Linked DNA regions of Homo sapiens: region 2 is linked to region 1. Evidence: promoter capture Hi-C in 16 types of primary human blood cells and fetal thymus (Javierre and others, 2016). All regions are on one chromosome and are shown on one strand. Each heading gives the region's core, a stretch centred on a gene start or on the middle of the fragment in contact. The rest is flanking DNA. Distances are from core to core; before and after follow the strand shown.

Region 1 (4,775 bases), core at 2,176-4,675:
TGAAAGTGAAAATACAACACATCAAATTTTGTGAGACATAGCTAACACAGTGCAGAGAGGAAAATTTTATAGCACTAAATATGTACATTAGAAAAGAGGAAAATTCTCAAACTGGTCACCCACCAGTTTATCAGTTTCAAGCTTCTACCTCGAGAATCTAGAAAAAGATGAGGAAAATAAACCCAAAGCATTCAGAAATAAGGAAATAACAAAGATAATAGAAGAAATCAAGAAAATTCAAAGCAAATAGAGAAAGCAATAAAGAAACAAAGAACTGGTTCTTTGAAAAACATTTTAAAAAATGACAAACCTCTAGCAATACTGACAAAAAGTCTTACCCAATCATTTCAGATTTCAAATGTGATTTAGTATCAAATCCTTTATATTTTCAACTTCCTTGCAACATATCTCCTGTTAATTGAGTTTCTTTAAGTGATTGCTTATATATCATCTCTAACTTTTCCCTGTATTACTATGTTTTTCTTTCTATATAACTAAAGAAGAGTTTTAAGAGATTCAATTTGTCCTTGAAGGTCTTTTCCTTTCTCTTTTGATAAACTTGAATAATTTTTTAAAATTATAATGGGATTAACTGAAACATAAAATGGAAATCAGCTTGATCAGCTATGTAGTACAGGTACAGGTTGGGCATCCCTAATCCAAAAATCCAAAAATAGGAACTGCTCCAAAACCCAAAACTTTTTGAGCCAACCTGATGCCACAAGTAGAAAATTCCACACATAAGTACGTAATGCAAACTTTGTTTCATGCACAAAATTGTTTAAAAATATTAAGCAAAATTACCTTCAGCCTATTTGTATAAGATGTATATGAAACTTAAATGAATTTCATGTTTAGACTTGGTTTTCATTACCAAGATATCCCGGTATGTACATGCAAATATTCTAATATCTAAAAAATCTGAAATCTGAAACACTTCTGGTCTCAAGCATTTTGGACAAGGGCTGTTCAACCTGTCATTACAGGCTAACTAAATAAAATTAATTTTAACATACTTTACAATGTTCAGTCAGTTGAAATACTATTTCAGCTTGCTGGTAACAGTCCAGCTAAATTAATCTATCACTTCACTTTAGCATACATGAGCATAAAGAATATGGGGCATGGTGCTTTTTCACATTGTCTACTTTTCCATCATGTGTCCAGATGAGACCAAGGTTTTGCTCCCCAGTTAACAAAACTGAGCTTCAAAATATGATTAAGATGATTTCCAGTGAATGATGAAAATGTTCCGTATCTTGAAAAAAGTGTGAGTTACACACATGAATCCATTTGTTAAAATGGTACAGTTAAGATTGGTGCATTTCAATTTCTGTAAACATTGCCTTAAGAAAAGAACTATACAAAAGTAATCATTAAGCGGGAAGCAGAGAATGGAGAGAAAGGTATAGACAAAACAAGACAACAGAATGTTGTGAAACTGATTGTGTACAGAGGCTTATTCTGTTTACTTTGTATATGTTAGAATTTTTCCATAATAAAAATTTTAAGTTAATGAGTCCTTGTGAGAACATGTTTACGAATGCAAACTTAATTCAACTCTACTCTAGTCAATCAAATCAAAGCAAAAGAGGGCAACACAGAGAAACATTCTCCTGAAACAATCTAACGTAATCCATTTTCTATAAAAAGGCAGTTTCTTGATAGACCCAACTGATATCTTTTTGGGGTACTTTGAGCTATTATCCTCTTTCTATATAACTACCAATGTTATCAAAGACATTTCAAGGATCTAAATGGAGTTTGACAAATACTGTACTGCTGATAAATTTGCTCTGACGTAAAAAAATAATTCAACAACCTATATTCGAGGATGCCTGGTGGTGCTTCAGAGAAACAGAGTGAATAAAAGACTTTGTGGATGCCGTTAAGCTGGAATCAGAACTCAGAATGCTCACCGAAAGAAGGAAGCATTTAAGATTGAGCAGGAAATAATGGCCTTGTTTCAGCAAAGAGATGACACCAGTCCAATATGTTTATTATTGTTGGTTTATTTCATAATTTCATTTTGTTACATTCTCAAGGAACAGTGTGTTCCCAGTAGCATCTATCAAGTGAACCCTGGAGGCTGGTCACATTCATAATCTTTTGTTTTTCTGGCTACATAGAGGTGATTTTGAACTACAAGATCATCTCAGCTATTCAGAGTTTAGATTTTATTTAGCCTTATTTGTTTTGCCTAGCATTTATGTATTTGAAAATATCTTGATTTTTAATCTTCTATCACCTTGGCCCTTACCTGAAGTGAACTTTGTTTGAACTCAATTGATTTCACCTCTCAATAAATATGAAATTAATCTGAAATGAATTGAATTGTTTGGCATATTTTACCTCTTCTATGTGCACTAATCTATTTCACACATTTTCAGTTTGTTTAGAGATACATGTTCCAATGTATCTGAGTAGAAACTAGTGAGATGGGAATGGATATAGCCATAATATTCCATCATTGAATTCCATGGCATTCACTCAAATGTAACTCACCTGTTTTAACAGTACCTTAATTTGGCCTGTATTTATTGGACTTGGTGTTCTTTTTGCTGTGAGAAGACGGTGAAGGTGATTCTTGAATGTTTGTTTTCTGTGTTGCATCATGTTTGTACAACACGGTAATATATTTGGACCTTGATTAAATAATGTAAGAGGGGAATTTGATCAAAAAATAAAATGCACAAGACTGTTAAAACAATGTCTAATTCTATCCATGCAAAAATGGAGTAGAATCCTAAAATGCTTATGACAACTACTTGATTGCTTCTAGTCCCTCTTTTAAATACTTTAATTTACTTAGATACATGTATCATACGTACTTCTTGGCCTCAGTTTTCCTCCTAATAGCCTAATTGTTCTTTTTACTGTGCAGGCATAACTATATAACAAAGTAGGTTTTTTTTTTCATGCCATTTATGAGTCATATAATTTAGATAATTTATTGTTTATTTTACCATTATTGTTGCTAACAAACTTCGTTGTTTTGCATTGTTTGTTGGGACAATTAAATAGTGTACCTCTTGGACTAATAGATTAAATAGTTCATCAGAGATAAATTGCACTGCTGAAGCATCAAAGGAGAAAGACTGAAGTGTAGAATCTGCACTTCAATCTTTCTCCTTAATTAGCACCACCAGGGAATTTGATTCAAGTTCTAGAGGGGAGTGAACCCAGGAATTGGCTTAAAAACAAAAACATACACACAAAAAAACCAACGCTCGCAAGCAATTATTTATGCATGCGGTCCACGCACTCAGTTTGAGAAACACTGACTCGACTTAAAAGTCTTTATAATGCTCAGATTTCTGAAATGCTATTGACCTGAAAACATCTCATGAAGTTATTAGTTTGAACGCGTGGTGGCGGTACAAGCTAAGAGAGTGAATGAAAGCTCTGCAGACTCGGTGGACTCCGTTTCATCCAGAAGCCAAGTAAAAATACAGACCACGTTTACAGCTAAAGCTGAGATAGATGTGTCCGGGAAGGCAGTCGTCGCCAGACAAGTTGTAAGAACGAATTTAAAAATCTCTGCAAAGACATCCGAGAGGGTCGACGGTAGATGTGGTGATTGGGAGCTGAAAAGGATTTTTCTTCCGTATTCAGACATAATAGACATGATGCAAACTAAAGTACAGAACAAGAAAAGGCAAGTGGCTTTCTTCATTTTATTGATGCTTTGGGGAGAGGTGGGTTCTGAATCGATTCAGTATTCCGTATTGGAGGAGACAGAAAGTGGCACGTTTGTGGCCAACTTGACAAAGGACCTGGGACTGAGGGTGGGGGAGCTGGCTTCGCGGGGCGCTCGGGTTGTTTTCAAAGGGAACAGACAACATTTGCAGTTTGATCCACAGACCCATGATTTACTGCTAAATGAAAAACTGGACCGGGAGGAGCTGTGTGGCTCCACTGAGCCGTGTGTGCTACCTTTCCAAGTGTTACTGGAAAACCCCTTGCAGTTTTTTCAGGCTTCCTTGCGAGTCAGAGATATAAATGACCACGCCCCGGAATTCCCTGCCAGAGAAATGCTCCTGAAAATATCAGAAATTACTATGCCAGGAAAGATATTTCCTTTGAAAATGGCACACGATTTAGACACCGGCAGCAACGGCCTTCAGAGGTACACAATCAGCTCCAACCCTCACTTCCACGTTCTCACCCGCAATCGCAGCGAAGGCAGGAAGTTCCCGGAGCTGGTGCTAGACAAACCGTTGGACCGCGAGGAGCAGCCCCAACTCAGGCTAACGCTGATCGCGCTGGATGGCGGGTCTCCGCCCCGGTCAGGGACCTCCGAGATTCAGATCCAGGTTTTGGACATCAATGACAACGTCCCCGAGTTTGCTCAGGAGCTCTATGAAGCACAAGTCCCTGAGAACAACCCCCTCGGCTCTCTGGTTATTACCGTCTCAGCCAGAGATTTAGATGCAGGATCGTTTGGGAAGGTATCTTACGCCCTGTTTCAAGTCGATGACGTCAACCAACCCTTCGAAATAAACGCAATCACAGGAGAAATTCGGCTGAGAAAGGCTTTGGATTTTGAGGAAATTCAGTCTTATGACGTGGATGTTGAGGCTACAGATGGTGGAGGCCTATCAGGAAAATGCTCTTTAGTCGTCAGGGTCCTGGACGTGAATGACAATGCCCCTGAACTCACCATGTCGTTCTTCATCAGCCTCATCCCAGAAAACTTACCAGAGATCACAGTGGCAGTTTTCAGTGTTTCAGATGCAGACTCTGGACATAACCAACAGGTTATTTGTTCAATA
Region 2 (4,982 bases), core at 2,125-4,624, 200 kb after region 1:
AGATCTCTAAGTTACTATTTGAAATTGTGACTGCTCCTTCTACCTGGGTCCTTGAGTAACTATGATGAGAGAAACACAACACTGGTTTGTATACCTGTGATAAATAGGCCTTTTTCATTTTAAATCCCTGTGCTTTGGAGTTTGTCATTCCAACCTGTATAGCTTATCCTGATACATACAAGTAAAAATACATATGAATAAAAGATATTTTATGCCCATGAAATTAAATGATGTTTGACTCCTTCCAAGACAGGTGACACTCTTTTTTTCTTTCTCCTTCCTTCCTTCCTCTCTCTTTCCTCCTTCCTTCCTTCCTCTCTCTCTTTCCTCCTTCCTTCCTTCCTTCCTCTCTCTCTTTCCTCCTTCCTTCCTTCCTCTCTCTCTTTCCTCCTTCCTTCCTTCCTCTGTTTCTCTCTTTCTTTCTTTCTTTCTTTCTTTCTTTCTTTCTTTCTTTCTTGACAGGGTCTTACTCTGTCTGGAGTGCAGTGGCATGATCACGGCTCACTGCAGCCTTGACCTCGCAGACTCAAGTGATCCTCCCACCTCAGCCTCCCGAGTAGCTGGGACTACAGGCACGAGCCACCCTCCCAGCTAATTTGTTTTTGTTTTTGTAGAGATGGGGCAATTGCTATGTTTCCCAGGCTGGTCTGAAATTCCTGAGCTCAAGTGATCTGCCCACGTCAGCCTCCCAAAGTACTGCGATTAGAGGCATGAGCCACCATGCCTGGCCTGTTATTCTTTTCATCTCAATAACATAAAAATTGGAGAACAAAAATGTAGAGGCTGGGTGCAGTGGCTCATGCTGTAATCCCAGCACTTTGGGAGGCTGAGGCAGGTGGATCACTTGAAGTCAGGAGTTCAAGAACACCCTGGCCAACATGGTGAAAGCCTGTCTCTACTAAAAATACAAAAATTAGCTGGGCATGGTGGTGGGCGCCTGTAATCCAAGCTACTTGGGAAGCTGAGGCAGAAGAATTGCTTAAACCCAGGAGGCAGAAGTTGCAGAGAGCCAAAATTGGGCCACTGCACTCCAGCTGGGGCAATAGAGAGAGACTCCATCTCAAAAAAAAAAAAAAAGTAGAGGCTGGTCAAATGGTTTTACCTATAGTGCCTGTTACATATGCCTAATGTATATGCTTATGTGTGTATTCATTTTGATTTCAACATTTTGCCTGAGGGTGGAAAGCTCACCTAGCTAAATTATTATGAGCCTTGGAGTGGTATTTCTTGTCCTTGAGAAGGACATCAAAAACATGTAAAGGAATATGTCTCAGCCTCTGCGGGAGATTTCCAGACAATCTCTTCCAACAATGGAATAGAAGTCCCTTCTTTTGTCATGTTCTACAACTTTCTTGAGCCAGAAATTGTTGGCTTATTCTGCAATTTATGAAATTATTTTCACTCATGAAATCATATGAGAGTTATCCAAAATTAGACCAAAATATGTTTTATTAGAACTCAAACAAAAGAATAGATTCCTCCCTCAATATATTAGGAAAAGGCACATTTAAATGTATGAGACAACAGGGCCAGAACACAAAAGCTGTAAGCAGAGTAAGGTGTATTCTCACTGAAACATGGAAATACATCACAGAATTTAAAAGGCCCATAGCCAGGGGAGGACTTCTGAGCCTAGGACTTTGAGACCTACTTGGGCAACATAGCATGACCCTGTCTCAAAAGAAAAAGGCACGTAACTTTTAACATATCATTTTTAGAAAAAAAAATGTTTATAGTATTAGTATCACTTTCCCTGTAAGGAGAAAAAAAATTAATTAGCTGTGTCAGGGGAAATTTGGATGCTCAAAGATAATTTCTAAGAATTCTATATGAAACATAGCCTACATATGTGTCATGAAAATACACTGAGAGTATGGAACCCATACAATTCCACCTACTTGTACAGGTAATGGAAGGTCTCAGACATCCCATTTTCACTAAAAAGGATTTATTTTTATTTTTTTGAAGAATGGGCAAGAATCCACTACAACAGAAAGGGAGGAGAAGTTCATAGTAAAAGGAATGGAAAGTATAAAGGCATGATGCAAGGAAACAAGTGAAAAGGTATCTTAAGAAAACAGATAATAGGCTGTTTCGAATAGAGTATGAGTATGGGTGAGCACTGCAAAATAGTAGAATAAATTGTTGAGTTGGATCTCATTTGGTAATGCATTTGAAATAAAGGGATTTGCTTTGAACCAAGACTGGTTCTAAGCCTGGAACTACAGAATAAGTTCCAAAATTGGGTGTCTAAGAACTCTGAATACCTCTCCAATATTTACCAGTGGTCAAGTCAAACTCGTTTTGCTCATTAATGGTATAAGTCGGCTGGAGCTGAGAATTGGCATTATAGAGAATGTTTTTGAGACAGAGTCTTGCTCTGTCACCCAGGATGGACTTCAGTGGCATGATCTCAACTCACTGCAACCTCTGCCTCCTGAGTTAAGTGATTCTGCTGCCTCAACCTCCCGAGTAGCTGGCGTTACAGGTACCCGCCACCATGCCTGGATAATTTTTATTTTTTTTAGTAGAGATGGCTTGCACCATGTTGGACAGGCTAGTCTCAAACTCCTGACCTCATGTGTTCTTCCCACCTTGGCCTCCCAAAGTGCTGGGATCACAGGTCACTGCACCCAGCCTAGAGTATTTAATATACATTCATATAAAAAAGAAGCACTGGTTTCATAAAACAAATGTACATTATATGAGATTCCACTTCATAAAAGCATGTATGTGTACCCCAACACTAAATTGGCCCTTTTAACAAAATATCAGACTTTGTCCTACTTAACTGGAAAGATTATCTATATTTTATAAAGAAGAGAAATAACATAATAGTAAGGCTGTGATTTCCTCTTTTTTGCAAAAACTATTTTTGAAAAGTATTACTGAATTGATAACATATATATGGAGAGATTTAAAATACTAGATAAGGGAGCTTATTCCAATGAATTTACAGAAAGGTAGGTATTTTAGTCAACTAAAAATATAAATAAAAATTATCAATTCACTTATTTGGATACAGCAGTCATGCCAGAGTTTATAAATATAGTGAAATCACTGAAGATTTTTTTTTACCCCCAAAACTGAAAAAAATGGCAGTGTACCTTGTGAATTTTTTAAATGAAAAAAGAATACGAAATGATGAAGGCCCTTATCTGATGATGACAAACTAGAAAACTGAAATGTAAAGGGGAAAATGTGAGTATGTGTTTCCCTCCAGCAAATTAAAGACAGGGTACATAGATTCAAGAGGTTGCGCTTTGAGGATAAAAAGCTGGGCCCTGTGCAGTTTTCCAAGACAACCTCTGGGCGCCGCTGTCGACCAAAAGGAAGTGAAGGCTTCTCAATTCTGCAGGAGCGTCAGGCAGGGTGCCTTCCTGCTTTGTCCGGTGCACTGAGCACAGACGCTGCTCCTGTTCACCCTCGAGCGCCTAACTAATAAGTCCTAAGCTCAAATCACAGAAGTCCAGGGTGCTGCCATTTCTTTTTGAAAAACATCCCAGAGGAAAGAAGCTCCGCGGAGAGTTCCTGAAATGCAGAGAGCCAGAGAAGCCGAAATGATGAAAAGTCAGGTACTGTTTCCCTTCCTGCTGTCTTTGTTCTGCGGGGCCATCTCCCAGCAGATCCGATACACGATTCCAGAGGAGCTAGCCAACGGCTCACGGGTGGGGAAACTTGCCAAGGATCTGGGGCTCAGTGTCCGGGAGTTGCCAACTCGAAAACTGCGGGTTAGTGCAGAGGATTATTTCAACGTTAGTTTGGAGAGCGGGGATTTGTTAGTGAACGGTAGGATAGATCGAGAGAAGATTTGCGGAAGGAAACTTGAGTGTGCACTAGAATTCGAAACGGTCGCTGAAAACCCAATGAATGTTTTCCACGTGGTTGTTGTAATCCAAGATATTAATGACAATGCACCACGTTTCGTTGCAAAAGGCATTGACTTAGAAATTTGTGAGTCAGCCTTACCCGGGGTAAAATTCTCTCTGGATTCTGCTCAAGATGCAGATGTGGAAGGCAATTCACTGAAGTTATACACCATCAACCCCAATCAATACTTCTCTCTGTCAACGAAGGAAAGTCCTGATGGAAGTAAATATCCGGTATTACTGCTGGAAAAACCTCTAGACAGGGAACATCAGAGCTCTCATCGCTTAATCCTGACTGCCATGGATGGCGGGGACCCGCCTCTAAGCGGCACCACCCATATCTGGATCCGAGTTACGGATGCCAATGATAATGCTCCCGTGTTTAGCCAGGAGGTATACAGGGTTAGCCTCCAAGAAAACGTACCGTGGGGAACCTCCGTGCTGCGGGTGATGGCCACAGACCAGGATGAGGGCATTAATGCAGAGATCACCTATGCCTTCCTCAATTCCCCAATAAGTACCAGCCTCTTCAATCTCAATCCAAATACTGGCGACATCACAACCAATGGCACATTGGATTTTGAAGAGACAAGTAGATATGTGTTGAGTGTGGAAGCTAAGGATGGAGGAGTACACACAGCTCACTGTAATGTTCAAATAGAAATTGTTGACGAGAATGACAATGCCCCAGAGGTGACATTCATGTCCTTCTCTAACCAGATTCCAGAGGATTCAGACCTTGGAACTGTAATAGCCCTCATAAAAGTGCGAGACAAGGATTCTGGGCAAAATGGCATGGTGACATGCTATACTCAGGAAGAAGTTCCTTTCAAATTAGAATCCACCTCGAAGAATTATTACAAGCTGGTGATTGCTGGAGCCCTAAACCGGGAGCAGACAGCAGACTACAACGTCACAATCATAGCCACCGACAAGGGCAAACCAGCCCTTTCCTCCAGGACAAGCATCACCCTGCACATCTCCGACATCAACGACAATGCACCTGTTTTCCATCAGGCCTCCTATGTGGTCCACGTGTCTGAGAACAACCCACCTGGCGCCTCCATTGCACAAGTAAGCGCCTCCGACCCGGATTTGGGACCCAACGGCAGA

What was found. Contacts are between HindIII fragments. The CHiCAGO score rates a contact against its expected background, and 5 or more counts as called.
Region 2: a contact is called between the fragment with the promoter of PCDHGB1 here and the fragment with the promoter of PCDHB6 in region 1, in 10 of 17 cell types (M1 macrophages, M0 macrophages, erythroblasts and 7 more). The highest score is 14.0, in M1 macrophages.

Annotation. Positions count from the first base shown.
Region 1 is chr5:141,146,632-141,151,406 of GRCh38, forward strand. PCDHB6 (protocadherin beta 6) reads left to right here and starts at 3,426. Exons shown (of 1, transcript NM_018939.4): 1 at 3,426-4,775. The coding sequence starts at 3,627. It also overlaps PCDHB@. The HindIII fragment of the contact is 6,099 bases long and covers 140-4,775 here.
Region 2 is chr5:141,346,725-141,351,706 of GRCh38, forward strand. It overlaps PCDHGB1 (protocadherin gamma subfamily B, 1), which reads left to right and starts at 3,375. Exons shown (of 4, transcript NM_018922.3): 1 at 3,375-4,982. The coding sequence starts at 3,537. The region is part of intron 1 of PCDHGA1 (protocadherin gamma subfamily A, 1); the gene reads left to right. The region is part of intron 1 of PCDHGA2 (protocadherin gamma subfamily A, 2); the gene reads left to right. The region is part of intron 1 of PCDHGA3 (protocadherin gamma subfamily A, 3); the gene reads left to right. It also overlaps PCDHG@. The HindIII fragment of the contact is 7,439 bases long and covers 1-4,982 here.